Regions from separate parts of the Homo sapiens genome. Here regions 2, 3, 4 and 5 are each linked to region 1. Evidence: promoter capture Hi-C in 16 types of primary human blood cells and fetal thymus (Javierre and others, 2016). All regions are on one chromosome and are shown on one strand. The core of a region is centred on a gene start or on the middle of the fragment in contact, and the rest is flanking DNA. Distances in the headings are between cores, read along the strand shown.

Region 1 (5,737 bases), core at 1,537-4,036:
AATTAAGAGGCCACATTCTCCAACAGGAAGTTAGTGCCACAGTCCTCAGCTCTTGAGCCATGCCATATTGGCCACAACCAGTCAACAACTCAGTCAGAAGGCCACCCCCACAACAGACCATGCCATATCTGCTGAGACCCTGGCCAGCAAGAGATTCCCAGTACTCTCCTCTCTCTTCTCACTTAATTCATTCCCAAAGTCTCAGGATCCTCTCTCCACGTGACTTCATTCTGAATCAAGTATAAATAATAAAACTTAAATCCCATCTGAAACCTCAGCTTCAAGAGACTCTGTTGTGTTGAATAATAGAGATTTCCAGTCTCTACAGTAGAGGCAGGCAAGACAGAAAGATGTTGAAATAGAGGTTGAGTACGCCAAACCATTGGATTAGCCACAGTTGCTCTGGAAAGTTGGGGTATTCGGTGTATTGTTGGCCAGCCTTTCCCTCCCTCATCTTCAGGCATCCAGTGCACATATATTATCTCATTTTTTCCTCAGCTCTACCTTTCAACAAAGTATTATTATACCCACTTTATAGATAAGGAAACTGAGGCTTATAAAGTTTAAATAATGTGCAAGAAGGTAACAGACTCAAGGTTTGAACCAAGATCCACTTTGCTATTCTTACATGGTAGAATTCATATATGTGCTTTGCTGAAACTGATCACCCAACAATAGCAGCCTCTCTCTATTCTCAATTCCCTTTATTCTGGCTGTGATTCACTGGCTTTCCAAATGGCTGAATAGGCCTGGGACTCTTCCACCTCCAAACCTTTGCTCCAGCAATTTTCTTAATTACTTGAGTTCCTTTATCCTGTGGGCCACCGAGAAGCCATTTGTGCCAGGCTCTCTGGGTGCAGAAAGGAGGAAGGATATATCCATCAGCTTGGATCCGCAGTTCATCAAATAATCACTCCATGAGAGATCGTTGTCCTTTCCCCCACATCTGACCATGCAGATCTCAGCCATCCCTTAAGGCCTAGATCCAAAACTACCTCTCCCCAAGGACTTCACCAGTCTCCCTGGCAAAGGCCGACCTTCACTGGGATTCCCCTGCATTGTGTCTGTATCTCCCTTCAAACATTTCCCAGATGCAACTTACATAATTGCCCCTCCTATAGTATAACTTCCTTAAAGACAAGAACCATGACATTGATCTCTGTGCCCCTTAAATCTCCTGGCACAGTGCATGTGTGTGGTAAGGATTCAGTAGATGAATAATAAATAAATGAATGAATAAATTTCCCTACTGAGGTGCTCTCTTCTTTAACATATTGGAGAATCTGTATCTGGGTAATTACAAATCAATTGCTCCAGACTCCTAGTGCTTTTAATTAGCAAGATTTTTCTTTATCTCAGCAGTCCCCTTCTTGGCACTAGAGACCAGTTTCATGGAAGATAATTTTTCCACAGACAGGCAGGGGTAGGAGGTGGTTTGGGGATGATTCAAGCGATTACATTTATTGTGCACTTTGTATTATTATTGCATTATAATATATAATGAAATACTTATACCACTCACCATAATGTAGAATCAGTGAGAGCCCTGAGCTTGTTTTCTTGCAACTAGACTGTCCCATCTAGGGGTGATGGGAGACAGTGACAGATCATCAGGCATTAGATTCTCATATGGAGCATGCAACCTAGATCCCTCGCATACACAGTTCACAATAGTTCACAATAGAATAGCATTCTCAATTCAATCCTATGAGAATCTAATGCCACTGCTGATCTGACAGAAGGCAGAGCTCAGGTGGTAATGTGATTGATAGGGAGCGGCTGTAAATACAGATGAAGCTTCTTCTCTTGCTCACCCACTGCTCAACTCCTACTGTAGCATGGACTGGTACCAGTCCGTGGCCTGGAGATCGGGGACCCCTGCCTTATCTTTTTTTCCCATATTTAGTGAGACTTCATCAGTTGTTAAGGCCCAGGTATTTATCTTCCCTTAAAATACATATATTGAAACCTAATCCTTAATGTGATAGCATAGGAGGTGGAGATGTTGGAATGTGATTAGGTCATGAGGGTGGAGCCCTTATGAATGGGATTAGTGCCCTTGTAAGAAGCTGAAGAAACCACAGTTTCCCTTCCACCATGTAAGGACTCAGCTAGAAGGTGCCATCTATGAACCAGGAAGCAGACCCTCACCAGAAAACAAATCTGCCTTGATCTTGGCCTTCCCAGCCTACAGAAATAAATATGTTGTTTGTAAGTTACCCAACTAATGGTATTTTGTTATAGAAGCCCACATGGACTATCAGTTAATGTACATAGAATAATTGTTACCTATTTATTGGTTTTGTGGCTTCTAATATTTTTTTAAATGAATTTTAAAAAAGACAGAGAATAATGTCTATCTTTGGAGTTCAAATGAGTTTTTTTTCTTTGGAACAACTACGATAGGACACTTTATACAGTAGTGCAGGCATTTACCATAAGTAACAATTCATCAGACCAAAAAAGGTGGAATAAATCATGAAAGTAAAAGTATCAAGGAGTCTCCGTACTCTACATTTAATCCATTCAATTTCCTGCTAAAGTAGAATTTCTTCCATTTGTGTCAATCCTTTGGGATCAGCCTACAGCAACAGTCTCCTCAGTTTCTTCTAGAAACTTCCCAGTTTAGAACCCCAAAAGAGTGGTCAGCAGTCACCAAGGCAGGTTCTCTCCTGCGTGTAGTTAATGAGACTGGTAGGCCAGCAGCTTCCTCCTGGTTGCCATGGAAATGACCAGGCTGCTGGCCCTCCGAAGACGGAAAAGAACAGCAAGTGCAAGACCACGCATTCCACCCTGGCTTGCAGATTAAACCAGCTGTCAAGCCAGGGTGAAGGATCCGTGGCCAGGCAGAGGTCTGTGGAGTGGAGAGGCGAGGCCTCACGGTGGAACTCTCAGATGTAAGTAATTTCTGTGTTCTTCTTTTTTAAAAAGCATGTCTAGTCTGACAGTTTTTCAGAGCTTCAGAATTTCTGCTGCATGGCAGGAACTGTGACGGTTGGAAGAACCATTGTCAGGGTCACCTTCTTGTTGCATTTGCATTTCCTGAACATAATGTACATGTATGAGTGGCTTTCACTATGAAACACTTTTTTAGGCTTCCAGGCATATGAATTCCTCTTTACTGAGATTCTGCCTTTAAAATGAAAGATTTTCAGTGCATTAAGCAAAGAATGACATGGTCTTCTCATTTAAACCCTAAAAAGATAAACTCACTTAAAGCTAATATAACAGATAGCTCCTTGAAATCTTGTCTCTATTTTAAAACATCTGGCTAGACTTTTCCATTAGTCTTCAATGCTAAATAACAATTAAGGAAAAGAGATATGATATCTCTTTTCCTTATTGTGATCACAAACAAAGAAAAGTGAGAACTCCCAAAACACCGGCTGATACTGTTTCTTTGCTCTGTTTTATCTTTTAATAATATTATATTTACTGCCTATTTACACACCAGGCTTTATAGAGTTTGCTGATTAGAAAACAAAGAAAAGAAAGTAAGCTAAGATGAGCATTAACATTTGGATTGGATAGTTCGTGTTTTTAAAAAATTGGTCTTTTATTCAAAAGTGAAAAAGCATGATAAATAATGTAGCAAAAGGCAAGATGAAGAGGGGAATGTTTTAATTCAAAATGAGTAGAACATATACAGTCTTGCATTTATTTCTTTGTTTAATAAGCATATTTTTGGAAAGCTTTTAGCAAAAAGTATGTTGGTGTATACTGAGGACAGGAAATGTTTCAAAAACATTGTGCATAATATTTATAAAAAACCCACCCTTAAAAAATACCAAAAAAAAGACTTCATTTGTTTGAAAATTTTTTACCGAAAAGAGCCATCCTTGAGAAGTTTTTTGCTTTTTTTTAGTCTAAATAATGCAATATGTTTGGAAGGAAAAAAAAAGACTTTTCATTACTTTTTTTTCTGACAGAAATTGGGCATTTTCTGAAAATAACAGTTTCAATAAAGTATTTATGGAAATGAGTGCTTTTCAAGAGCTGACTTGGATTTCTCATCTTTCTTTTCCACACTAATATTTTTCACTGCTTAAAGCTGCCACATTATCAGCTTTTAAAATTCAGTGCCCAGTGGCTTGTGTCTGTGTCTGTGGGAGCTAATAGGTCAATAGGCCCCAGTGGGAAGAACAGGCAGGCCTCACAGTTCTGTGGGCGTGGGACCAAGGGGCAGCTGTGCAAAGCTGTGGATGTGAACCCCAGTGATGCAATTAACTGAGTGTCTACCAAGTCACTCAAGGGGAAAGCCTGAAGGATTTGCACTCATTGCCTAATTCACTCTCTCAAGGACTGTGTCAAGTAGAAAAGTACGGTAGCCACATATTTTAGTTAGGACTTCCCAGTGGCTCACTCTCTGAGAATTCTTTGTCCCACATTCCATACCTATGTTAGCAGAAGCAGCACTCTGCTCATATTGTCCTCTATTCTGATTATGAACTTAAGAACAGAAATTTCTTTCTTATGGTTCTGGAGACTGGGAATTCCAAGGTCAAGGGGCCTGCATCTGGCAAGGGCATTCTTGCTGTTTCATTCCATGGTGGAAGGTGAAAGGGCAAGAGAACATGTGCACACACATAAGAGAGACAGAGAGAAAGGGGGTCAAATTCATCCTTTTATTTGAAACCTATTCCCATGGTGACCAACCCACTCCTCAATAACAGCATTAATCCATTCATGAGGGCACCGCCCTCTTAAAGGTCACCCCTTAAAGCTCCCACTTCTCAACACTGTTGCACTGGGGATTAAGTTTCCAACACGTGAACTTTAGGAAACACATTCAAATCATAGCATTTAGCATGAGGGTTCTATACACATATAGGTTAAAGGCTACAGCATCTAGTAATAGAATACAATGCATGGAATCTCACTTGAATAGGCCCAAGACCCTGGGGTAGGAAATAGCGCTGTAATTTCCACCATGACTCTTCAGAGTATAGTTGGCTGTCTGGGTTCAAATTTTAGCCATTATTAACTAGTTCTGTGACCTTGGACAAGTTATTTAACCTCCCTGAGTACCCATGTATCATTTCCTGATATGAAAATGGGACCATATGCAGTGGCTCATGCTTGTAACCCCAGCACTTTGAGAGGCTGTGGTGGGTGGATCACTTGAGGTCAGGAGTTCGAGACCAGCCTGGCCAAAATGGCGAAACCCAGTCTGTACTAAAAATACAAAAATTAGCTGGGCGTGGTGGTGCAACACCTATAATGCCAACTACTCGGGAGGTTGAGGCAGGAGAATTACTTGAATCCGGGATGCAGAGGTTGCAGTGAGCCGAGATAGTGCCACTGCACTCCAGCCTGGGTGACAGACTGAGACTCGGTCTAAAAAAAAAAGGGGAGGGGGGGCCATAATATCTACCTGTAGGATTACAGAAAGGATTAAATAACATAAAACACGTGAAACACTTAACAGTACCTGGCACAAAAGAAACACTCATTAGATCTTACTATTAGTGAATAAAAATATGGATAGTTCCTGATTTCATTCAATTTTCAGTATACAACATACATGTATCACATTTTATATATTATAGTATGTTGCCTCTTTATCAATGACAATTTGCTGTATTTAGCTAGCTTAGCCTTGGGAACACAGGGCTGAGGAACAGTGAATTACTGGTACAGTAACATTTCTCATAGGAGTCTGAACTTTCTTGGGAATCAGGAGCTGTGTATTTGGCATGTTAAGTTGGAGATGTCTACTAGACATTCAGAAAGAGCT
Region 2 (4,440 bases), core at 461-2,960, 450 kb before region 1:
GAGACTTCCTGATACATTTGATGCATAAAAGCTGAGGTCAATGTCCATTTTGGGCTTAAGCAGCTGGTGCCCCGATTGGAGCTCAGCTGGGGAACTCACGAGTCCCATTTGAGCTGCATTAGGTTGGAGATGCTGGAGAGAGGCTGAAGTAGGAATGTCAGGGAGACAGCCAGATGAATGAGCCCAGAGGTCACACCAAGAAGAGATGTGGGCTAGAGACAGAAATTATTTTCAAACCTTTTAATAGAAAATTCGAAACCTGGCCAGGCATGGTGGCTCGCGCCTGTAATCCCAGCTCTTTGGGAGGCTGAGGAAGGTGAATCACCTGAGGTCAGGAGTTCGAGACCAGCCTGGCCAACATGGCGAAACCCCATCTCCAATAAAAATACAAAAATTAGCCAGGCGTAGTGGCACACACCTGTAATTCCAGCTACTCGGGAGGCTGAGGGAGGAAAATCGCTTGAACCCGGGAGGCGGAGGTGGCAGTGAGGCAAGATCAAGCCACTGCACTCCAGCCTGGGCCACAGCAACAGAGCAAAACCCTGTCTCAAAAAAAAACAAAAAAACAAAAAAACAAACAAACAAAAAAAAAAACGGAAGAAGAAAGAAAGAAAAGAAAATTTGAAACCTACATGCAAGTAGAAAAGTAGAAGACTATAATAAACCACCACCCATCACCCAACTGGTACCAAGAGAGATATAAATGTGCGAGTCATGGGCCTATAGCCCGTGTTTAATGCCAGGGTTTGGCTGAAATCCCCCAAAGGAACAGTGCCAGGGAAGGAGAGAAAAGGCCTTGGGCATCACAATTAGCTACATAGAAACCTGACAGAGCAGGAGGGTCCCAAGCAGAGACAGCCTGACAGGGCGGGAAACCGGAGGGGTATCCCGGAAGGCCAGGGAAGAGTTCATGAGAAAGGAAGGAGGTGACCATGGTGTTATTGGAACCTAGGCAGTCAATTTAGAGGACAGAAAAGGTTTCAATGGATTTAGGTTTAGAAGCCATGGAGCTGGGGCGCTGGGGGACAGAATCCAGATTTCAGGGTGCTCGGGCCTGAACCGGAAGGAGGGGAGGTGCAGCGGGTGATGGGAGGCACATCTGTAGGGAGGGCTGGCACTGAGGGGGCAGACTTGGGGTCAGGGAGGGCTGTCAGGGCACTCGGGGACTGGTGGGGGCCTCCACTTGAACTGATAGTCTCCAGAAGGGTCAGATGACAGCCACGGTGGGATCTTGGGTCTTTTGGGGAAGCTACTTTATTTAGACGCCCGCCAGCAGAGAGCTGCAGGAGGACAGGGAATCAAAAGACGCCGGGAGTCTCCCCCTGAGTTTAGGGCCCAGACGGTCTGTAATCCGGGCGCGGATGGGGCTTTCTCCTGTTACAGAATCGACGGCAGCAGCAGCCTAGTTGCGTCTCAGCAGCCGGCCGTGGCGTTTGCATCTTCTCTCCCGAGGCCCCGAAGGCTCTTAAGTCACTTGCAGGGCGCCCAGGGATGGGATCAGGGGCGGCATCTCGCGGGGCCTCCCGGTTCCCAAGCGCGCCCCCTCCCCGCGGACCCCTCACCTGACACCAGCAGGCAGCCACCCAGCCAGCTCCCAAGGCTCCACGCCATGGACGGACGCTGGGGGTTCCGCGGCTTCCTCCAAGCACACGACCCCCGCCCGCGCCCGGGAGAGCTTGTCCGCGGCGGCTTCCGGGAACCAGCGGAGATGGGCGGGGCGGGGTGGGGAGGGGCCGGGCGACCGGGCTCCCACCCCGCTGCAGGCCCCGCCCACCAGCCCGGGTCCACCCGCGAGGCGCGGGGCACAGGCTTGGCAGATGCACACGAGGAAGAGGAAGGGATCCTCGCAAGCTTTGAAAGGCGCCGTCAAGTCAAATAAATAAATGCCCTACAACACCAACCCAGGACTGAGATCTGCATGCTGGAATGACGGTGGTGGTGGTGGCTTTCAGTATTCCCCAGGTTTTGTCCGGAGCACCGGCACGCCCTCTCTTGAAGTCCGCTCTCCGCACAGGTGAGTTAAAAGCACTTCAGCAGCAAATCCAGTTTGAGGGTCTTCTTTACCCTTCTCCCCAGGGATAAACAACACAAAACCAAGTCATCTTTACGCAAATAACTAGTTTCTTTCAGAGACTACTAAGAAAGCGTTAATTTCCTCTTTTTAACTTGATTAGTGGTTAGACGGGAAGATCCGGAGCTGTCCAGTGTCTTGGGTAATGCACGGCATCGCCTGATGTCTGACGCTAGAACACCACGTAAAGTCAAGCAGAGGGAAGTGAATGCGCCCTAGGCCCCTGCAGGCCACCAAGAAGAGCTAGAGGGAGTTGGTGCAATCCTAGAGATGCCGGCAGGTGCACCAATCTGTGGCACACGTACGCTCTCCAATGGAAGACAACTCAAGACCACACCAAGTTTGTATTAAAAAAGTACTGTTGTGTTACTTTTTACCAACCTCCAATCATTATACAAAATGTTAAAAAATACACAAACACACACACACACTCACAGCCATAGAGGTTATCGCAAAAGATCAACCCAGAATCTTTCAGAATATGACAGATGCACTGAGAAGGCAGATAAATTGATTCAATATACAAAAGGCCTCTTTCCTATGGAATTTCATTAGATTAAATAAGGTGTTCCCTCCTCACAGCCTCATCCTTATGAGCAATCATATAAATAATCTATTTAAAGTCCTTGAACTATAACTTGTATAATTTTTAGTTTTCCCCCTTTGAAGGGGCCTAAGAGAAAGGTTTGAGAAACCAGCTCTTGAGGGGGGCAGGGGTGAGGGGTAAGAGGTCCTGTGCCTTTCATTCATCCTGGGAGCTTCTCAGGATTGCAGCATTTCCACCTGAGTGTTCATTCTTGTACATTTTCTCATCTTTCTCCTGGGTTCCTAGGATCTTGGAGATTACCTAGTCCAATCCTTTTACTTCAGAAACAAAAAACCTGAGGCTCAGAAAGGCTAAGTCAAATGCCTAGGGTCACACAGGGAAACTGTGGGAGTTGGATCCCTGAGTCCCAGTCCTTAAACTGGTTGCTACATGACATTCTAGAACCTCTCCCCACCAACTCCCTTTTTAAAGACAGGGTCTGGTTCTGTCACCCAGGCTGAAGTGCAGTGACATGATCTTGGCTCACTGCAACCTCCGCTTCCTGGGCTCAAGCCATTCTCCCACCTCAGCCTCCCAAGTAGCTGGGACAACAGGCACATGCCACTACGCCCAGTTAATTTTTCTAATTTTGTTTTGTAGAGACAGATTTGCCATGTTGCCCAGGCTGGTCTCGAATTACTGGCCTCAAGCGATACGCCTGTTTAGGCATCCCAAAGTGCTGGGGTTACCGGCAGGAGCAATTGCTCCGGGCCAGACTTCCCTTCCCCCGCCCACACCCCCCCAACCCGGCCTAGATCCACAGGCACTGTAATCACAGCTGACACACTCGACTCGGAATCAGCATAGAGAGCACTCTGAAAATTGTCAAATAGGGTCCCTGAAACTTGTATACCATACTTCTCCTGAAGATCTTGAAGCATCTTTGTGTTTGCTTTTTTTTTTTTTAACTTAAAATATGGCATTCAGGTTTTATCCCTCTCCCCGACGCCATGTTTCCTTTCTGTATTAGTCACACACGTGATCCTAAAGTCTGTCTTCCCCACTTTAACTGGGGAGGGCTGGACAAGGTGGAATTCCAATTGCAGGAGACAGGATGTGACATGGGTGAGGTGCCCAAGGCTCACCGACTGAAACTTCGATGGCTCTTCCCTGTTTCCTTGTGCAGGGCCCCCCTTCTCTCCACTGCTCACCTGGCTCTCCTCCTCCCTTCCTGCCTGCTTTGCAGCTCTTGCTACTATTTTCCTTTTCTTTCCCTGCTCCCACCCTGGCCCAATTTATTTCACAGAAATATCACAGGGCCAGCCAGGCACAGCGGCTCACCCCTGTAATCCCAGCACTTTACGAGGCTGAGGAGGGCAGATCACTTGAGGTCAGGAGTTTGAGACCAGCCTGGCCAACATGGTAAAATCCTGTCTCTACTAAAAATACAAAAATTTGCTAGGCATGGTGGCAGGCGCCTGTAATCCCAGCTACTTGCGAGGGAGGCTGAGGCAGGAGAATCACTTGAACCTGGGAGGCGGATGTTGCAGTGAGCCAAGATCACACCATTGCGCTCCAGCTTGGGCGACAGAACGAGACTCTGTCTCAAAAAAAAAAAAAAAAAAGAACGAAAGAAGAGAAATATCATAGGGTCCTGGACCACCTCTGAAACTGTGGGGAACCCTGCTCCCTGGTAGACATGATGCAGAAACATCCTAAGTGCATTAGTGTAAAGGAAAGGTGCACATGTGCTTCCTTCAAAGTGCACCACTTTGAATATGTAAACAATGCACTGAATGATACTATGGTCCCCATACTGGGAATGTGCATAGGTGATGTCACC
Region 3 (5,938 bases), core at 1,167-3,666, 340 kb before region 1:
AGATGGATCAGCTGCACTACTTAGGCACTTGTGCAATAACTTTCCTCCAATTTTAGAACGTGGGAAACAACAGGAGACACTTGATGACTTTCGCTTGGCTGTGGTGGGTGAGAAACTATGCTTTGTAGGATAAGGGTTGAGCTGTATGTAACACCACCTGGACATTTAATCTTCCTGGCCACCTGGACAGAGGTGGTTGGTTGCCTCGCTTAAAAAGCCTTTCTTCACCCCTTAGAACTCCTGACTCTTGGCAGGTGTGTGACTTCCTGGAAGTAAGACTACATTTTCCAGCCTGTTTTGCTGTTAGGTGTGGTCATGTGACTAATTGTTGGCCCATTGGTCAGGTCCAACTCTTGTAAGCAAGAATTATAGCTCCTAAGGACCTTCTCTAAGAGGTTACTGGCTGAGATCCCTCATGCATTTTCCTCCTTCCTCCCACCTGCTGCTTGCAATGTGTACACATGATTGGAGCTCCATTTTGGACCATGAGGATGAAGGCTATACTCCAGAAATGGCATAATTGAAAACTGGAAATAGCATAGATCCTAGGGGATGATAGAGAAGCCATTCCCCTACTGGAATGTCTGAATTCAGAGTCCCACATGATGGAAATAAACATATCTTTTGTAAGTGATTTATTTTGGGTTTCTTACTGGGAACCAAATCTGATTTTAATTTGTAAATTCCCCTTTTTCCTTAAAAATTTATTTACCTGCTTGTAGTAACTCCTCCACACCAGAGCCATTCTTCCTACCAGGTAGTGGTTTTCTAGTACGTTCACTTAATCCAGTGTATTCAGTGGTTGTTTTGTGCTTCTGTTTTCAAGTAATATGGCTACCTTTTAGCAGAAACCTTGGCAATATTGCATCCCAAGCCAGTAGTTTAAAAACTTGTTTTCAAAAGAAATCCAGTCTCCTTCTCATTGCTTCTGAAAATTTCTGGTGTGTGTGTGAAGGTGTGGGAGTGGGGTGAGCTTGCATTCCACTGGTTAATGCCTGTCACCTCTTTCCCCACCCTAGCCCCTAGCTTTTCCCTCCATCACATCTGAGGGTTTCCTCATTGCTACACTGCCTGCCACCCTTTTCCTACTGCTCTGCCCCAACATGGACACAGTCCCTTTCCTTCATTTCTTAACCATTTCCAACATAAGGCTAATGAAGTTTTACTGTACAATGGATTTTTATTGAAGATTTGGGAATATCAGAGTGTAATTACAGCACAAATTAAAAACTTATGACAAGTTTTCTATTATCACTGTTGTAAATGTTCTTCACCTATACTCACTCAGTGTCAGCTAGGGTGTCTTGAATGCTGACATCCTAGGTGGGATCACATCCTCTGCAAGCTCACTCACTCACATGTTTGCACTCACAGTGTTGTGCTGATTCTTGGCTGAGCTCTCACCTGGGGCTGTCAGCAGCACACCTCCACGGGAACTCCTCATGTCACTTGGGCTTCCTCACAACATGGCCACCAAGTTTGAAAGGTAAACAACCTGAGAGAGAGTGAGTCAGGCAGAAACTGTATTGCTTTTGTTTACCTAGCCTCAGAAATCATGTAGCATCACTTCCACTGTGCATTCTGCTTGTCAAGGCAGTAAAAAGTCCTGCCCAAGTTCAAGGGGTTGATCCCTACTCTCCACCTATTGATGGAAAGTGACACCTTTTGGGAAGAGCTTGTAGGCATGGAGATATTGCTGTGGCCACTTTGAGAAAATGATCTCTTAAACTCATCATGGGGCATCCTTTACCAGCCATCACTGCCCTTGGCCCCAGCCTGCTCCTGGGTTCCGGGATTTTACTCTTCCTATGAAGTTCCTGTCCACCTCCAAAATTCTCAGGTTATTACTCTCAATGTAATGCCCATCTTTTGTGCCAACCCAAAGAAAACTGAAAGCGCCTACTTTTTAATTATTATTATGCAGAGCCATTTGTTTCTCTTGGTCTCACTCTTTCTATTCCCAGGTCTGCCCTTGACCTTACCTTTTCTAACTTATGTTACCTTTTTTAACAAGAGGCTCGTTAGCTAAAAGACCTATTATCTTCTAAAGCAAAATGGGCATAAACAACAAGTGGGGGCTGGGTGAAGGGGATACAAAAGTTTCATAAGTTGCTAACTTATAATAAATCCCTAAGGAGATGTTCTTTCAAAAACCTGCTTTCGAAAAAAATTATCAACAGGGGAAAGCTTCTCAGGAGGGAAATAAAAACACTTGTAGCATAAGGCTGATTTCCTAATATTAGTGAAAGACATAATGGAAGGAGTGGTCGGTAGAAAATAGTCCCCAGTTCCTGGAATCCAGGCAGATGCCATCGTCTCAATGGAGCTTGGCTCCATCATCTGTGAAATGAAGACCATGTGGTCTCAGCCACTCCCTGAGGTCCCAAACACCTGGACATTTGAGCCTTTTATTTTATACTATAAATACAAACATTCAGCAGGCATTTGCTTAGTATGGATTATATTTAAGATTTATGAATTAATTAAAATAAATTAAAATATTAATTAATATAATTACAATACATATAGATAATTAGATATAGATATACTTTTTTGCCTGAAAGTCATCACTGCAATTATGGTTGAGGCAGGGAATACTTTTCTTGGTGGGCTGGTTTTCGTGGTGATCTTTAAACCAAAGCTTTAATTTATAACAGGGTAGACTGTCTAGCAGTTTCCAAAAGCATGAGAGGTGTCCTTGGTGCTGAATTACAAGCTCGGGGTCTGATAGTCAACACCAAGGATAAACAGCTCTGCTTTTGGTGGGGTGGGGCGGAGGAGAGAGAGAGAGAGAGAAGAGAGAGGAAGGAAGGAGGAGGAGAAAGAGGGAGGAGGAGGAGAAAGAGGGAGGAGGAGGAGAAAGAGGGAGGAGGAGGAGGGAAGGGAAGCAGCAGCAGCAGTCACCACTGCCACATTCTTGAGTTGTCATTGTTTTGTCTTGTTTTTTGAAGGCAATAAGGGATGTCCTGATCAGAGAAAGCCTAGAAAGAACAAGATTCTTAAAAATCAAGCTGTGGCACTGCTGCCCAGGCCATGGGCACTCTCCAGAGTTTTTCAGGGCTTCCCTGTGTTGTCATGGGGATTAATTAGTTAATATTTATGGCGTATTTTGGAGTCACTTTAAGTTAAGCATGTGCAGGGAGCTGTGACTCAGATACGAAATTATTTTCAAAAGGGAAAGTGTGTGTTAGGGTTTGTGAGTGGTGGGGCTCTCACAGATGTCATTTCATACCTAGAAAGCACTATTTTAAACTATATGAATGACATCTTGCCAAAATATGTTCACCATTTTTTGCTAAAACATTTTAGGTTAAAACTAAATTTGCAAAGTGACATCTCAGAAGAAGAATATACTGGAAATCTAGGAAGAATGGAGTTAATAGGGTCTTTAACAGGCTTGTAACATCCTTAGACTCTTAGATTTACACTAGATGCATGCATATGTTTTATTAGCTCAAAGTAAAACTTTGTGGCCACCAGTGGTTTCTGGTCATTTATATGTAATACAAATTATGTCACCCTTGCCTTTAGTTCAATTTTGCTTTTTACTTGATTCCTTCCCAGGTGAAAAGATGATTCCTAGTTCTTGTTTTGCTCTGAAGAAGCAGGTTGGGTTGCTGGTCCAGGCTGGGCTGCCTCCCAGGTAACCACAGTGTATCTTCCAGTCGCCCACTGAAGATGCTGATGGTCTTCAAGAAACTTCTCAGATCTGAAGGAAGATGCAGGGGTTAAAAATAATATTTGTGTTGAGTATTTAAAATTACTATTATCAGCCGGGGATGGTGGCTCACACCTGTAATCCCAACATTGTAGGAGGCCAAGGTCGGTGGATCACCCGACATCAGGAGTTCAAGACCAGCCTGGCCAACATGGCAAGACCCTGTCTCTACTAAAAATACAAAAATTAGCTGGGTGTGGTGGTGCGCACCTATAATCCCAGCTCCTTGGGAGGCTGAGGCAGAAGAATTGCTTGAACCCAGGAGGCAGAAGTTGTAGTGATCATGCCACTGTACTCCAGACTGGGTGACAGAGCGAGACTCTGTCAAATAAATAAATAAATAAAATTACTGTTATCAATTAGCTGGATGTGGTGGTGCATGTCTGTAATCCCAGTTACTAAGGAGGCTGAGGCTGGAGGGTCGCTTGAATCTGGGAGGTGGAGTTTGCAGTGAGCCGAGACGGCACCAACTATACTCCAGCCCGGGTGATGGAGTAAGACTCTGTCTAAAAAATAAATAAATAAATAAAATAAAATTGCTATTATTATAGACAGGACCTTGTTTGCAAAACTACATAACATAAAGTTAATATAATTCTATAAATATAATAGACATAATGATATCATGTTGTCATATTATATTGGTTTGCATAAACTCAAATCTGCCAACCTCTTTAACTCACAAAGAGCATTCAGTAGGTGCTTTGCATGTACTCCACGCATGATAAATATTATTCAAATACTTGGATTAGCAACACGTTTTCCCTCTGGATCTCTTTTTTTGTTTCCTGTGGAATGCATGCTGGTCCCAGCGAACCCTGAAGGACTAAATGTGGCAAAGTGCATGTCTGTATTTGACATTCACATGTCAGTAACTGCCAAGTTATAAACGAGCTGCTTTTCAGAGCCTCATTTGCTAAATTGCCACATGGCATTCACAGCATATTCCTCAATAAAATACCATCACGCCCATAGTTTCCTGCGTATGTCAGAGTCTCCAGCACCTACTACCACGTCTGGCTTATGCTGTGTGCTCAGTAGTGGAAAGAATGATGGGTTTTCCTTCTTTCTACATGTTTTCTTCCATGCCTTCACCTCATGTGTGTGTGTTTTTTTTTTAAACTCTTCAAGATTCAGCTCAAATGTCACCCTTCTATGAAACTTTCCCTCACTGAGCCCAGGCGGAATTTATTTGCCCTTTTCTCAGCATCTTTTCCTTCCCTTCCTTCCTTCCTTCTTTCCTTCCTTCCCTCCCACCCTCCCTCCTTTCTTTCTCTTTCTTTCTTTCTTTTTTCTCTTTCTTTCTTTTTCTTTTTCTTTCTCTTCCTTTCTTTCCTTCTTTCTTCTTTCTCTCTCTTTCTCTCTCTTTCCCTCCTTCCCTCTATCTCTCTCCCTTCCTTCCTTCCTTCTTTCCCTCCCTCCCTCTTTCTTTCTTTTTCTTTCTTTTCTTCCCCTTCTTTCCTTCCTTCCTTCCTTCCTTCCTCCCTCCCTCCCTCCCTCCCTCCCTCCCTCCCTCCCTTCCAATGGAGTCTTATTCTCTTACCCAGGCTGGAGTGCAGTGGCATAATCATAGCTCACTGCAACCTCAGAATCCTGGGCTCAAGCAATCCTCTCACCTCAGCCTCCTGAGAAGCTGGGACTACAGGTGCACCAAAATTTTTGAATTTTTTGTAGAGATGGGGGATCTCAGTATGTTGACCAGGCTGGTCTTGAACTCCTGGCCTCAAGTGATCCTCCTGTCTCAGCCTCCTGAAGTGCTAGAAGAGCCACCTTGCCCAGCATTTTGTTTCTTTTATAAAAAAATTATTTTTATTTTGTTAAAAATTTTTTTTTGACATAGAGTCTTACCCTGTCACCCAGGCTGGAGTGCAGTGGTGAGATTTCAACTCACTGCAGCCTCCGCCTCCTGGGTTCAAGTGATTCTCCTGCCTGAGCCTCCTGAGTAGCTGGGATTACAGGTGCCCACCACCACGCACGGCTAATTTTTGCATTTTTAATAGAGATGGGGTTTCATCATGTTGGCCAGGCTGGTCTCGAACTCCTGACCTCAAGTGATCCACCCACCTTGGCCTCCCAAAGTGCTGGGATTATAGGCATAAGCCACTGTGCCTGGTCAAAAATTATTTTTAATATAATTTGTAGAGATATGGTCTCACTTTGTTGCCCAGGCTGGAGTGCAGTGGCACAATCATAGCTCACTGCAGGCTCGAATCTCTGGCC
Region 4 (5,646 bases), core at 1,405-3,904, 380 kb before region 1:
TTAAAATTAAGAAATTGCTTGCTTACACAATATATTATTCTTTCTTTTTCTGGCATCTTCCTTGCGGTTTAGATGTCATATCGTAACTTCTCCTTCCCCAAAGGGTCAATCCAACTCTAGTGTCTTGTTCCATGTGGGTCTTTTGTTCCTTCCACCCATAATCTAAAGGTCCCAAGGCACTTCCCCTATCCTCCCTCAGCCAAGCTTCATCCTTGGGCTCTGCCCTAGAGTAACTCAGCTGACATCTTAAATATGTCTGATCATGCTAGTTTGTATAATTCCTGTTTTCTGCATGCAGACTATGTGTTTTTCCTAACACACCAGCAAATATTTAGTAACTTTAAATTTATGTGCCAGTATTTTGCAAAGTGCAGTGGGGGGGTACAAAGAATTGAAAACCTGATCTCATCAACTGGAGTTGACTACACATATGTAGGTACGGGAAAGAGTAAGATATAGAGGGTACCACCTGTAGCTGGAGTACCTCCAGCACCGGGCGATGCTTCCCACTTCTCTCCTCTGTAATGCACAGGAAACATTATATTTCCAAATATGATGCATTCCCATGGGTAGCAGTTGCTCTGCCTCTTTCCCAACCAAGAAAGCCTATGGAATTTAGGGATTGTTGGGATGTGATCAAAGGGACAACCTTAAATATCCACTGTTTCTAAGAAGGATCCTTGTTTAGACACTTAGGAACAAATTAACTTATCCCCCTTATCCTGCCCAGCATCCATCAGTGGGTTAGGGAGGTATGGCAGAGGATGGCTGGCAAAGATAGGGCCATTTTCTGCATACAGATCACACTGCAGAGAAATAAACTGAGTTCCCTAGCGGCCTTTGCCTCTGCACTGCTGATTGCAGTTGGTGCCACACTGTGCCAAGTGATAAGCTCTTGAAAAGGAGCAGTTGCGTCGTGTCCTCAGAGGAGGACTGTGTGGAATGTTTGTGTCTGCATATTCAAGCTTGTTGCCAGATCTGCTGTTTCTGGGCCTCTCTCATTCTCAACTTCCTTGTGTTGAAAAATGAAGATATGAATTCCTCTCTCACAAGGGCTGTTGTGGAAATTCAATAAAAGTAATTTTGTGAGAGCTTTTAGCACGGTGCTGGCATTCAAGTGGTTGGTTGCTCAATAAATATTTGCTGGGTGAAAAAAATCTGATATTTACTTCAGAGTTCACTATGTCATTTTTCTTAATGAAAGTATATCCAAGTAGATATCTTGCTAAAATAAGAACAGCTGGAAACTATCTTAAGTGGAATTGCCTGAAGAAGAGGTGTGTCCATTTTCATTGTTTTGTAGAGTTTAGTTCATCCAGCATATCCCTCGCTTCCTTTCCTTCTTTATAGGGTTCCACAAGGAGCTTTGCTGTGGGCGAACTGTTAGCTGGAGCTGTGATAATTAGGCCAAGGTCATGCATCTGTCCCTTGTGGGCCAGTTAGCTCAGCTTGGCTCCATGTCCATACGCATTGATCTTAACCCAGCGGCAGACTCACAAGTGTGTGACCGCATCCCAGAGGACTGCGGGGGAAGGGTTTCTGTGGATCAGGGCAAATCGCTCCTGCCGGAGAAGCACCTTCACGGTCAGCTCTCTTATGGTTATTATGACCTGAAGGTGGCGCTGTTTCTCAAGGAAAACTGGCGTAGGGTCGCCGACAGTCTATTTTAAAGTGAGTGTGAAATGATAGAATGTCAGAGTTGGAGAGAATCTGCGAGGTAATCTTTGGATCGATTTCCTCACTTTCCAGCCAAGGAAACAGATCCAGAGGGATAAAACTCTTGTCAGAAGTCACACCACAGATTCCTGACAGAGGCATGGCTAGACACGGGCCTCCCAGGTCATAAACTTTTACAATTTTCACTGCACTAAGGGTTTCCTGATCCTAAATGGTATCAAGCAATTAATAATGCTTAAAAGAAAACTGAATGAATCATTGATAACTAACCTGGTGATATTGTCAATGAATTAAGTTACTGAATTTCAAATGTCTGTTATTTCTAATCACAGGTCAGATTCAAGTTGTTTTGGCTTTTACTACAAAAAGCATCTTTACATATATCTGCAATTTAATGGATAATTTATTTTCCCTTTCCATACATCTGAAAGAAGAAACATAATTGGTATGAACAGCACTTAATTCCAGACTGACTTCTTTTGAACTGTAGGTAAGCATTATTTGTTTGAATGATTACAATTGAGACAAAATGTGGGTTTTTAACAGCTGCTCACAGATTGCAGGCTGATAATGACAGTAACTCTATGGCAGCTATTTGTAACCCCTACCCTAGTTCATAGAAAGAGAAGCATATTAGACAGTGGGCATGGCAAGTACCTCTCCGCAGGTGTGTACGGAATCAGAATTCAACTTTTAGAAGATTTCTGCTCTGAAAACAAATTATTTTTTAAAGTAAGCTTTTACTTATTTTGGGGGGTATGGTGAGTACTTGGGAACGTGAGAGAGTGTTTCCTACTTTTCTCATGGTGAGAGTTGACAAGATGTGAGGTTTGGAGCCTGTGTTGTAGAATTCAAGGTCATCAAAAAAGGCAGGTCTTGTGGCTCTGCTTGAGGCATGAGTTAAAACTTTTCTTATCATCCTGATCAAATACAGTTGTAGGAGTTGTCGCAGGGAGATTAGCACCCTTTCTCCAGTTCATCTTGGACAGGTGGTTTTTATTATTCTTGTATTTGGTTTTTATCCTCTTTCTTTCAGAGCTAAGGGAGACTCATCAGAATGGATGGTTTCTGAAATAGGAATCTATTCAAGATTTAGGAATATAGAATTTTTATTTTTTAAAACACATTACATTTCATTACACTGTCCAATGATATAACAGAACCACAGACTTTTCTGGTTGTGTCCTGCTCTTTATTTTTACCTGGATCCAAGCTTTCTTCAATGATTCTCTCTCTCTCTCTTTTTCTTTTTCTTTCTTTTTTTTTTTTTCTTTTTTGAGTTGGAGTCTTGCTCTGTCACCCAGGCTGGAGTACAGTGGTGTGATCTTGGCTCACTGCAACCTCCGCCTCCTGGGTTCAAGTGATTCTCGTGCCTCAGCCTCCTGAGTAGCTAGGATTACAGGTGTATGCTACAATGCCTGATAAACTTTTGTATTTTTTGGTAGAGACTGGATTTCACCATGTTGCCCAGGCTGGTCTCAAACTTCTGGCTTCAAACTATCTGCCTGCCTCAGCCTCCCAAAGTGCTGGGATTACAGGCGTGAGCACCGTGCCCTGCCTCTCTTCAAGGACTCTCTTTGCTACATCGGCATCACCTGGGAACGTGGTAGGGCTACAGAATCTTGGGCCCCACCTTGGACCTACCTAATCGTCATCTTATTCATTGGTGTTCCCTTCGCCAGGTGAGTTTTGCACTGACTAAAACACACAGATCTATCAGGTGAGTCGAAATGGCAATACTCATTTACCTTAGTTCTGCCTTTATTTTACTTTCAGTGTTTTATCCTTGTCCATGGAGTCACTCTCATTCATGCAGTTCCACAAATATTTTTTAAGGCCCACTCTGTGGCAGACATAATACAAAGGGCTGAGAATAAAGATGAAAAAAATCATTTACTCAAAGTATGTAGTATGTCATCCAATGATAAGTTATGGAGGAAAAGGCAGGCTAAGGGGGCCGGGAGTGTGGGAAAAGGGTGCAGTGGTATACAGAGTGATCAGCGAAGCCTTCTCCCAGGAAGGGGCCTCTGAGCAGAGAAGGGGAGGACAGAAGGAAAAGTCACGTGGAGGGCTCAGGGAACTACCTCCTCTGCCCTCCAAAGCCACTAGCGAATCGCTGTGTGCGAGGGTTGCCACATTTAGCAAAAATACAAGATACCTAGTTGCATTTGAATTTCAGATCAACCTTGAATATGTGTTGGGTATAACATACTAACTTTTTTTCTTTTTCTTTTTCCTTTTTTTTTTTGTTTTGAGACAGAATCTCACTCTGTTGCCCAGGCTGGAGTGCCGTGGTGCGATCTCGGCTCACTGCATCCTCCGCCTCCCTGGTTCAAGAGATTCTCTTGCCTCAGCCTCCTGAGTAGCTGGGATTACAGGCACCTGCCACCATACCCAGCTAATTTTTGTATTTTTAGTAGAGACAGGGTTTCGCCATGTTGGCCAGGCTGGTCTTGAACTCCTGACCTCAGGTGATCCGGCCGCCTCGGCCTCCCAAAATGCTGGGATTACAGGCGTGAGCACCGTGCCTGGCCTAACTTTTAATATTAAAATACACATATATAAAATTTAGTACATATACTAGTACATAGTACATGTACTAAATTATATTGTAATGTTTTTAGTATGTCCCATACAATATTTACGACATATTTATTTATACTAAACAAATTCATTGTTTATCAGAAATTAAAATTTAACTGGGCATCCCATATCTGTGTGACCCTCTGTGTGACCGATGGCTTGTGGACCAGACCATGAGCTTGGGGAATGTCCTTCTCAGCAGGACCACCATTTCCCTTCTCAGTCAACCCTCACCTTGTTCCCTAGGCTCTGGGCAGGGTCACCTTGAAGGCGGCCATCTGTGGCCTTGTGTTAACTCCACAGGTGACACCTGGATTCTGTAGTCAGATAAGAATGTGCGCCTGTCTTCTATAGCCAGCTAAGCATTTCCTAAACTAAACACTCCTAAAAAGTCTTCTCTAGTGAACAAAACACATCTTAGAATCCTCCAGGAATATACTCCATTGTGAATGGATCACAGTGGGGAAAAAAAGTGAATTGTTCCTTTGTCCATCTAATGTTTGGGAGAAACTCATGATTTATTTTGCAGCCAAACGCACACGCAATCCAGTTTGCAGTTTTCCAAAGGCTATTTCTGATGTGGGATGTGTGGCTCCTCCCACCTCTTCCTGGTATAATCTATAGCGTAACATCTGTGTGTCTATGCTAAGAGTCAAGCCATTAACCTCTGAATTTATTTATTTATTCGAGATGGAGTTTTGCTCTAGTCGCCCAGGCTAGAGTGGAATGGTGCCATTTCTGGTCACTGCAACCTCCGCCTCCCGGGTTCAAATGATTTTCCTGCCTCAGCTTCCCAAGTAGCTGGGATTACAGGCATGCACCACCATGCCTGGCTAATTTTGTGTTTTTAGCAGAGATGGGGTTTCACCTTGTTGGCCAGGCTGGTCTTGAACTCCTGACCTCAAGTGATTCACCTGCCTTGGCCTCCCGAAGTGCTGGCATTACGGGTGTGAGCCACCACACCTGGCCTAACCTCCGAAATTTAAACAAGGGGAGAGTCTCCTCTCCATTTATTATTTTCGTAAACCATAACTACTTGCAGGTTTGTACCTACTGTAATAACAACAAAGCTATGTCAACTTTTAGTAATTGGCCTCTTGTAATGCCCAAGCTTGAAGGGAAGGTCCTGGAACTCAAAGCTTTTGTGTTTTCCAATCAGGGAAATGATGACTGTAAACAAACTACCAGACTTAGCCAAGGTAGCCCAATGGGCTGATTCGCCACCTGCTCTTATAATTCCAAACATCTTCCATCACAAGTTAAAAATTAGTGACGCCCAACACAGCAAACTTTAGTTATGTCTTCTTCTTCTTCTTCTTCCTCTTCCTCCTCTTCCTCTTCCTCTTCCTCTTCTCCTTCTCCTTCTCCTTCTTCTTCTTTTTGAGA
Region 5 (6,015 bases), core at 1,480-3,979, 320 kb before region 1:
GTATATCTATGCTACCTTTTTTTTTTTTTTTTTTTTTTTTGAGATGGAGTCTTACTCTATTGCCTAGGCTGGAGTGCAGTGGTACTGTCTCAGCTCACTGCAACTTCCACCTCCAAGGTTAAAACGATTCTTGTACCTCAGCCTCCCAAGTAGCTGGGGCTACAGGTGTAAGCCACCCCACCTGGCTAATTTTTGTATTTTTAGTAGAGACAGTGTTTCACCATGTTGACCAGGTGGTCTCAAACTCCTGACCTCAGGTGATCAGCACCTGGCCTACATTTTGTTTTGATGGACACTTGGGTTACTGCCACCTTTTGGCTATTGTGAATAGTGCTGCTCTGAACATGGGTGTGCAAATATCTCTTCAAATCCTTGCTTTCTATTCTTTTGGGTATTTACCCAGAAGTGGAATTGTTGAATTATATGGTATTTCCATTTTCAATTATTTGAGAAACGGCCATACTGCTTTCCCTAGCGGCTGTACCATTTTACATTCTCACCTATGGTGCCCAGCGGTTCCAGTTTCTCCCTATCCTCACCAACACTTGTCATTTTCTGGTTGTTTTGTTTTGTTTCTTATTGTAGCCCTTTTAATGAGTATGGAGGAGACGAGCTTCTGATTGGATGCTAAGGGGCTGTAGTCAAGCTTCTGATTGGATGCTAAGGGGCTGTAAAGTAGTCAAGCTTCTGATTGGATGCTAAGGGGCTGTAAAGTAGTCGTGTCCTCGCGCCCTTGTGAAATAGTTACAGAGCCTGCTACACTATTCCTTTGATACAGAGAACAGTAAGTCACAGCATATAAGCAAGGGTTAGATGGAGCATCCAGAGGACGATGGCAGGGAACAAAAGAGAAGTCCTGAGAAGGATCGTGGGACCAGACCAGGCTTTGTGGAAAGCATGGGGCTGAACTGTGCCCCAAGGGTGCAGAGAAGGTGGGGAGTGTGTTCCAGGAGAGGGGGCCACCGGAACAATGGTGTGCAGATGGAAACTGGTCCAGCTACTAAACTGAGAGGGACAAAAAGAACAATAGCGTTGACAGGGATACGTGGCAAGACAAGCCTATTTCACCTGGACTTTCCTGCTGAACTCCAGACCTTATGAAAGCTCTGATAACAGCTGGGACATCTGGTCGTGCAATCCGTGGTGAGGAAGGAGAATCCAGGCATTCTTTTAGCCCAGTAGTGAATTCGAGCGATGCCAGAGGGGAGTCATCTTGGCAGTGTGATACTCCCAGGGAGTAGGAGTAGGAGGATGTGGCGTGGCGGGGGCTGTGAGAGTGCCTGTGCAGGCTGCGAGGGGTGCCAGGGTGGCACTGTATACACACTGAAGGACAGGTCCAATAACCAATACGGGGTGTCTGTAGATTCTGAATGCATAGAAAACAACATTATGATTATTACTTTACAGACTGGAGATGGCTTTAATAATATTATATATATTTAACTGTTTCTGGACCTTATGAACATCATGTATGTTAAGGTCGATGAGGGAACCAGGTTTCTCATCAATGAAGAAGGGAGTTACACATGTGGAAGGGAAAAATCCTAGAATAAGCCCTTTGGTGTTGGACTGGAATTGGAAGTGTCAGTGTCAACTCGTATATAAATGTAGCCTAGTTCCGTTCACTGGGAGGGCCTGGGAACAGTGCCACCCGGGAGCAGACAATACATCAGTGCTCAGATCTTGGTTCCTAAAGTCCCCACTTAAAGGAACCCAAACTCCTTGGAGAAATGGTCAATTCCAAGGCTGGATGAGGAGTCAGGGAAAGTACAAGATGAAGCTAGAACGTCTTGTGCCAGGAAGTAAAGAAGGGCTCAAAGAATTATAGGCACATGTCCGGAGAACCCAGAAGCCAGAGTGAAGGAGCTCCTACCGGCCAGAACTGGGATAATTGAGGCATAAAAATGAATAACGATAGGAGCAGAGTATCACCTGATAAGTAAAATAAGTACGCTTGAGTTCCTACCGATATAAACAAACAGATGAATGTATAAGTGGAAAAAGCAGAATTCTAACTAATATGGCGGGGCACAGTGGCTCACAACTGAATCCCAACACTTTGGGAGGCTGAGGTGGGAGGGTTGCTTGAGCCTAGGAGTTTGAGACCAGGCTGGGCAACATAGTGAGACCCTATCTCTACACAAAAATTACTAATTCCAACTAATAAATATTAGGAAAGTGATGGAATTAGAAAATCATTTATTGGCAACCATCATAATCATCCAACGAAGAAACACTGGTGGATATTAAAAACAGTGAGTGAAGTCTGATGAGGAATGGGATATTTGCAAAGGCTCACGTACCTCCCCACAAGATCCTTGTATGTTACAAAGGGGGAAAAAAGTAACTTTACAGCGGAGGCACATGGACAACATCACCTTCATTATTTCGTTTACATGTAAGTCACCAGGACTGGGGTAAATTAAAATTGTGTGCCACTTGGCCAGATACAAGATGAACCCAGCATCACTTCTATGATGATGTTTCTGCCAAAGACATCCCTGACCCTCATAATAAGGCATCACCTGAAAAACCTACACTAAGGAACATCTACGGAATAATTGGCCTATTATTGTCAAAAGTGTCAAGGTCATGAGAGATAGAAACTGTTCTAGATTGAAGGAGACTAAAGAGATGGGACAACTCTGTGTGATGAGCAATCCTGGATTGGGTCCCTTGCCTATAAAAGTTTAGTGAGATTGAAACAACTAGAGAAGTGTGGATGGCATTTGAGAATGAGATGATAGTATGTACCGATGTTAATTTCTTCATTTTGGTGGTTGTATTTAGATCATGAAAGTGGGTGACTTTCACAATCATAGGAGATACACATTAAAGTATTTTAGGGTGATGGGCATCATGTCAGCAACTTATTACTCAAGTGAATTAGGAAAAACAGGTCTTTGCATTATTCTTGCAACATTTCTAAAATTTTAAAATTATTTAGAAATCAAAAGGGAGGCCGGGCACGGTGGCTTACACTTGTAATCCCAGCACTTTGGGAGGCTGAGGCGGGCGGATCATGAGGTCAAGAGATCGAGATGAGCCTGGCCAACATGGTGAAACCCCGTCTCTACTAAAAATACAAAAATTAGCTGGGCGTGGTGGGATGTGCCTGTAGTCCCAGCTACTCAGGAGGCTAAGGCAGGAGAATCTCTTGAACCCGGGAGGCAGAGGTTGCAGTGAGCCGAGATCACACCACTGCACTCCAGCCCGGGCGACAGAGTGAGACTCCATCTCAAAAATAATAATAATAATAATAATAATAATAATAATAAAATAAATAAGAAAAATAAAAAAGAAAAAGGGAAATTATTTTGTAAAAATCTACAAGTTAACATGTAACATCAGAATCTGGGCCCAATAATGAATGGGTCAAGCAAAGGCATATCCCCTGGGGAATGTGATGACCCTGAGTGCTCCAGGCTGGCACTGAAGGGCAGTCCTCCCTTGCTTTATTTCCAAGTGTCAGGCATGTTTTTATAACAGGGTAGAGTTGTCTCTTCTTTTCACATGGATGACCAGATGGTGCTCCCCGAGAGTCGAGAGCTGAGGTTATGTCCATACCTACTGGGGTAGCGGGAACAAGTTGCCTAGAAAAGCCACTGAGAGATCTCTATCTACCTGCAGACTCTGTGTATAGTGAAGACTCGGTATGTCCCCCAAAGTTGAAGAAAAGGCAATGGGTATATTCTGTGGGGTGCAATGTGTCTTACTGGGCAATAGCAACATGGATTATGAACAATAGCTCCCACCTCACCCAGGACACTCGACTCACTGCCATGGGGATTCTACATTTGTTTGGAGAAGTAGAGGTGCAGCTGGAAGAAGAGGAAGTGGGAGCATTATAAAGAGGGTTATAAAAGGTTTTTTGAGCAAGGCAGAGGAAATGAGACTTGATGGAGCAGGCACGGAAAGTCATTGCTGATTCCTGAATAGGGTTCAATATATTGACAATGGCATTGAAAGGGATTAAGAAGCCTGACCCTGAGCAGTCTGCTAGGCTAACCCTTATTTTCCAAGGGAGAGGGGGTGGGCATTGTCAAATTCTCTTGATTAAACAAGTTGATTCAGAATGAATGAATTAACGCATTTTGGTTGTTGTGAGAATTAAATGAATGAACACATGGAAAATCAGCACAGTGCTGAGAACAATACATGTTAGACACAAAAACACATGGGAAGCCCCCAAACTAGAGCTGGGCATATAAGAAGCCACTTCCCAAACGTGCCGAAAAACTCTACCCAACCCAAAACCCAAGCATCTAAAGATACGGCATTGGCCACTTTCTCCACCATCACTAGTGCTGTGGCCTCTTTATTTGCAATGGTGCTTTCTCTCCAAGGAATTCCAAGGTTCTTACAAACTTTAAATTACCCAGGGGAAATGAATCCTCACAAGCAAGAAAGCAAAATAAAGTGCCTCAACCAAAATAAACTCCCTCCACCTCTCTGTCTCCCTCTGCGCCCACCTCCTCACCTAAAATAACCCAGGTCAACTCTGCTCGCCTGCTCTGTCGTCGCCCGTGCCAGCCTTGGCTTCACTCCTGTCATCAGCTGACCCAAGATGATTGCTAATGAACCCTGTGCCCTCTCATCAGCAGGGTTTCTTTGGAGAAGTCCAGAAAGGTGCTTGAAAAAGGCCAGTGCCTCTTTGTTATTTTAATGACCGCTCTGTGACTTCAACCACTTAGAATCCAAATCCATCCTGTTTGCAGGGAACAGGATTCTCCTGTCGCAATGTCTGATCTTGATGAAGGCTTCTCGAAGCTTTGGATCTGCTAAGATCACACACAGTATTGGTGGTTATTGGTTTCTTGGGAGAAGCAGCTCCCCTGATGATAAAACTCCCACAGAGAGACCTGACTTCGCCAAGACCAAGTTCAAGACAGAGGGATGGCCGTGAGACTTGAGCTGGGATTGCAACAGCTGCTCTCGATAGTGTGTTCAAAATTCTATAACTGGAGATGGATGATACAGATATGTCCATTTCCAGGTTGCCAGCGGTTATCTGAGACACCCCAGTACCCTCTGGGTTTGCAACCCTCTGGCCAGTAAGGGGCGCTGTTGATTGAGGGACTGTGGCTGGAAGCTACGAGGGGGAAAAGAAGTGACCAGCAGATGTGGTCTGTGTTCCTGGTTCCTTAGAGACTTCCCTCTTTGGAGGACGATCTGATTAGAGCTGGAAAACTCAAACAAGCGGCTTCAACCCCAGCAGCCTCACTCTGCTATGTACTCTCGGAACAGAAACCGATCCCCACGGCAGTCTTTTCTCCGGACTGTGCAGAGGGCTCCAGGCCACCACAAGAGGCATCACTGTGATTGGTCCAGGCTGCAAACTGCTGCGTGCTTGTCCCATTTTCCTTCACTATTTCGTGTTTATTTATCTCTGACAACGATCGTGGCTGCATCTGATCCTTTCTTGCGGCCACTGTCACTACTCCCCCATACTGAAATCTACCAGGCACTTGGTTTGATAGACTACTAAAATAGTTAACGAAAGTCCTCAAATTTTGTGTGTTGGGGAGGCAGGAGACAGAAAAAATAGAGAAAGAAAATAATCTGAAGATATTGCATTCCATATTTATCCTGCGTGTCATGGGACCTATATTTGTAATTGCGTAATGTATACATATATATATATATATATAAAACATATATCCAAAAAAAAAAAAAAACCAAAAAACAAAAAAAACCTCTCCCAGGCCCCATTTTGCTGGAGTTTTAAAGACAAAGTGCCTCTGTGCTGAGACAGGAGCTGGGAGGCACTGTGCCCAAAGGCAGGAGGTTCATTCCTGTGTCGAGCTCTTCCCCTGCAAGCGAGGCCTGTGTTCGTGGGAGGGCACTTAGAGACACCCTCAAGAAAGGGCTATAGAAGTGCAAATTATTAATAGACATTATTCCAGTGATGCTCACTTAAAACCTCATTGGCAGCAGATGAAACAGTGGAGGCCTCTTGCCATTTGCTCGGATTTCTCCTGCTGTTCTCCCTCGAACGAGGACTGCAGCAAACAT

What was found. Contacts are between HindIII fragments. The CHiCAGO score rates a contact against its expected background, and 5 or more counts as called.
Region 2: the fragment with the promoter of IL10RB here is called in contact with the fragment with the promoter of EPCIP in region 1 in 6 of 17 cell types (M0 macrophages, naive CD4 T cells, non-activated CD4 T cells and 3 more); the score reaches 9.5 in M0 macrophages.
Region 3: a fragment that was not itself captured here is called in contact with the fragment with the promoter of EPCIP in region 1 in 3 of 17 cell types (M1 macrophages, M0 macrophages and M2 macrophages); the score reaches 8.3 in M1 macrophages.
Region 4: a contact is called between a fragment that was not itself captured here and the fragment with the promoter of EPCIP in region 1, in 10 of 17 cell types (total CD4 T cells, M0 macrophages, naive CD8 T cells and 7 more). The highest score is 8.8, in total CD4 T cells.
Region 5: a contact is called between a fragment that was not itself captured here and the fragment with the promoter of EPCIP in region 1, in 3 of 17 cell types (total CD8 T cells, M2 macrophages and M0 macrophages). The highest score is 5.3, in total CD8 T cells.

What each region holds. Positions count from the first base shown.
Region 1 is chr21:32,810,752-32,816,488 of GRCh38, reverse strand. EPCIP (exosomal polycystin 1 interacting protein) reads left to right here and starts at 2,786. Exons shown (of 4, transcript NM_001162495.3): 1 at 2,786-2,897. The HindIII fragment of the contact is 1,895 bases long and covers 1,800-3,694 here.
Region 2 is chr21:33,263,637-33,268,076 of GRCh38, reverse strand. It overlaps IL10RB (interleukin 10 receptor subunit beta), which reads right to left and starts at 1,710. Exons shown (of 7, transcript NM_000628.5): 1 at 1,563-1,710. The coding sequence starts at 1,611. The region is part of intron 7 of IFNAR2-IL10RB (IFNAR2-IL10RB readthrough); the gene reads right to left. It overlaps IFNAR2 (interferon alpha and beta receptor subunit 2), which reads right to left. Exons shown (of 9, transcript NM_001289125.3): 9 at 2,413-4,440. It overlaps IL10RB-DT (IL10RB divergent transcript), which reads left to right and starts at 1,817. Exons shown (of 2, transcript NR_038974.1): 1 at 1,817-2,014; 2 at 2,175-2,445. RefSeq lists a silencer at 1,455-1,864 and enhancers at 2,035-2,104, 2,135-2,194. The HindIII fragment of the contact is 8,663 bases long and covers 1-1,853 here.
Region 3 is chr21:33,154,333-33,160,270 of GRCh38, reverse strand. No RefSeq gene overlaps it. Among named protein-coding and RNA genes, the nearest start is that of LINC01548, 13 kb to the left of the region's middle. The HindIII fragment of the contact is 454 bases long and covers 2,190-2,643 here.
Region 4 is chr21:33,193,024-33,198,669 of GRCh38, reverse strand. LOC105372787 (a long non-coding RNA gene) reads left to right here and starts at 3,153. Exons shown (of 3, transcript XR_937675.3): 1 at 3,153-3,359. The HindIII fragment of the contact is 476 bases long and covers 2,417-2,892 here.
Region 5 is chr21:33,126,552-33,132,566 of GRCh38, reverse strand. No RefSeq gene overlaps it. Among named protein-coding and RNA genes, the nearest start is that of LINC01548, 41 kb to the left of the region's middle. The HindIII fragment of the contact is 4,086 bases long and covers 687-4,772 here.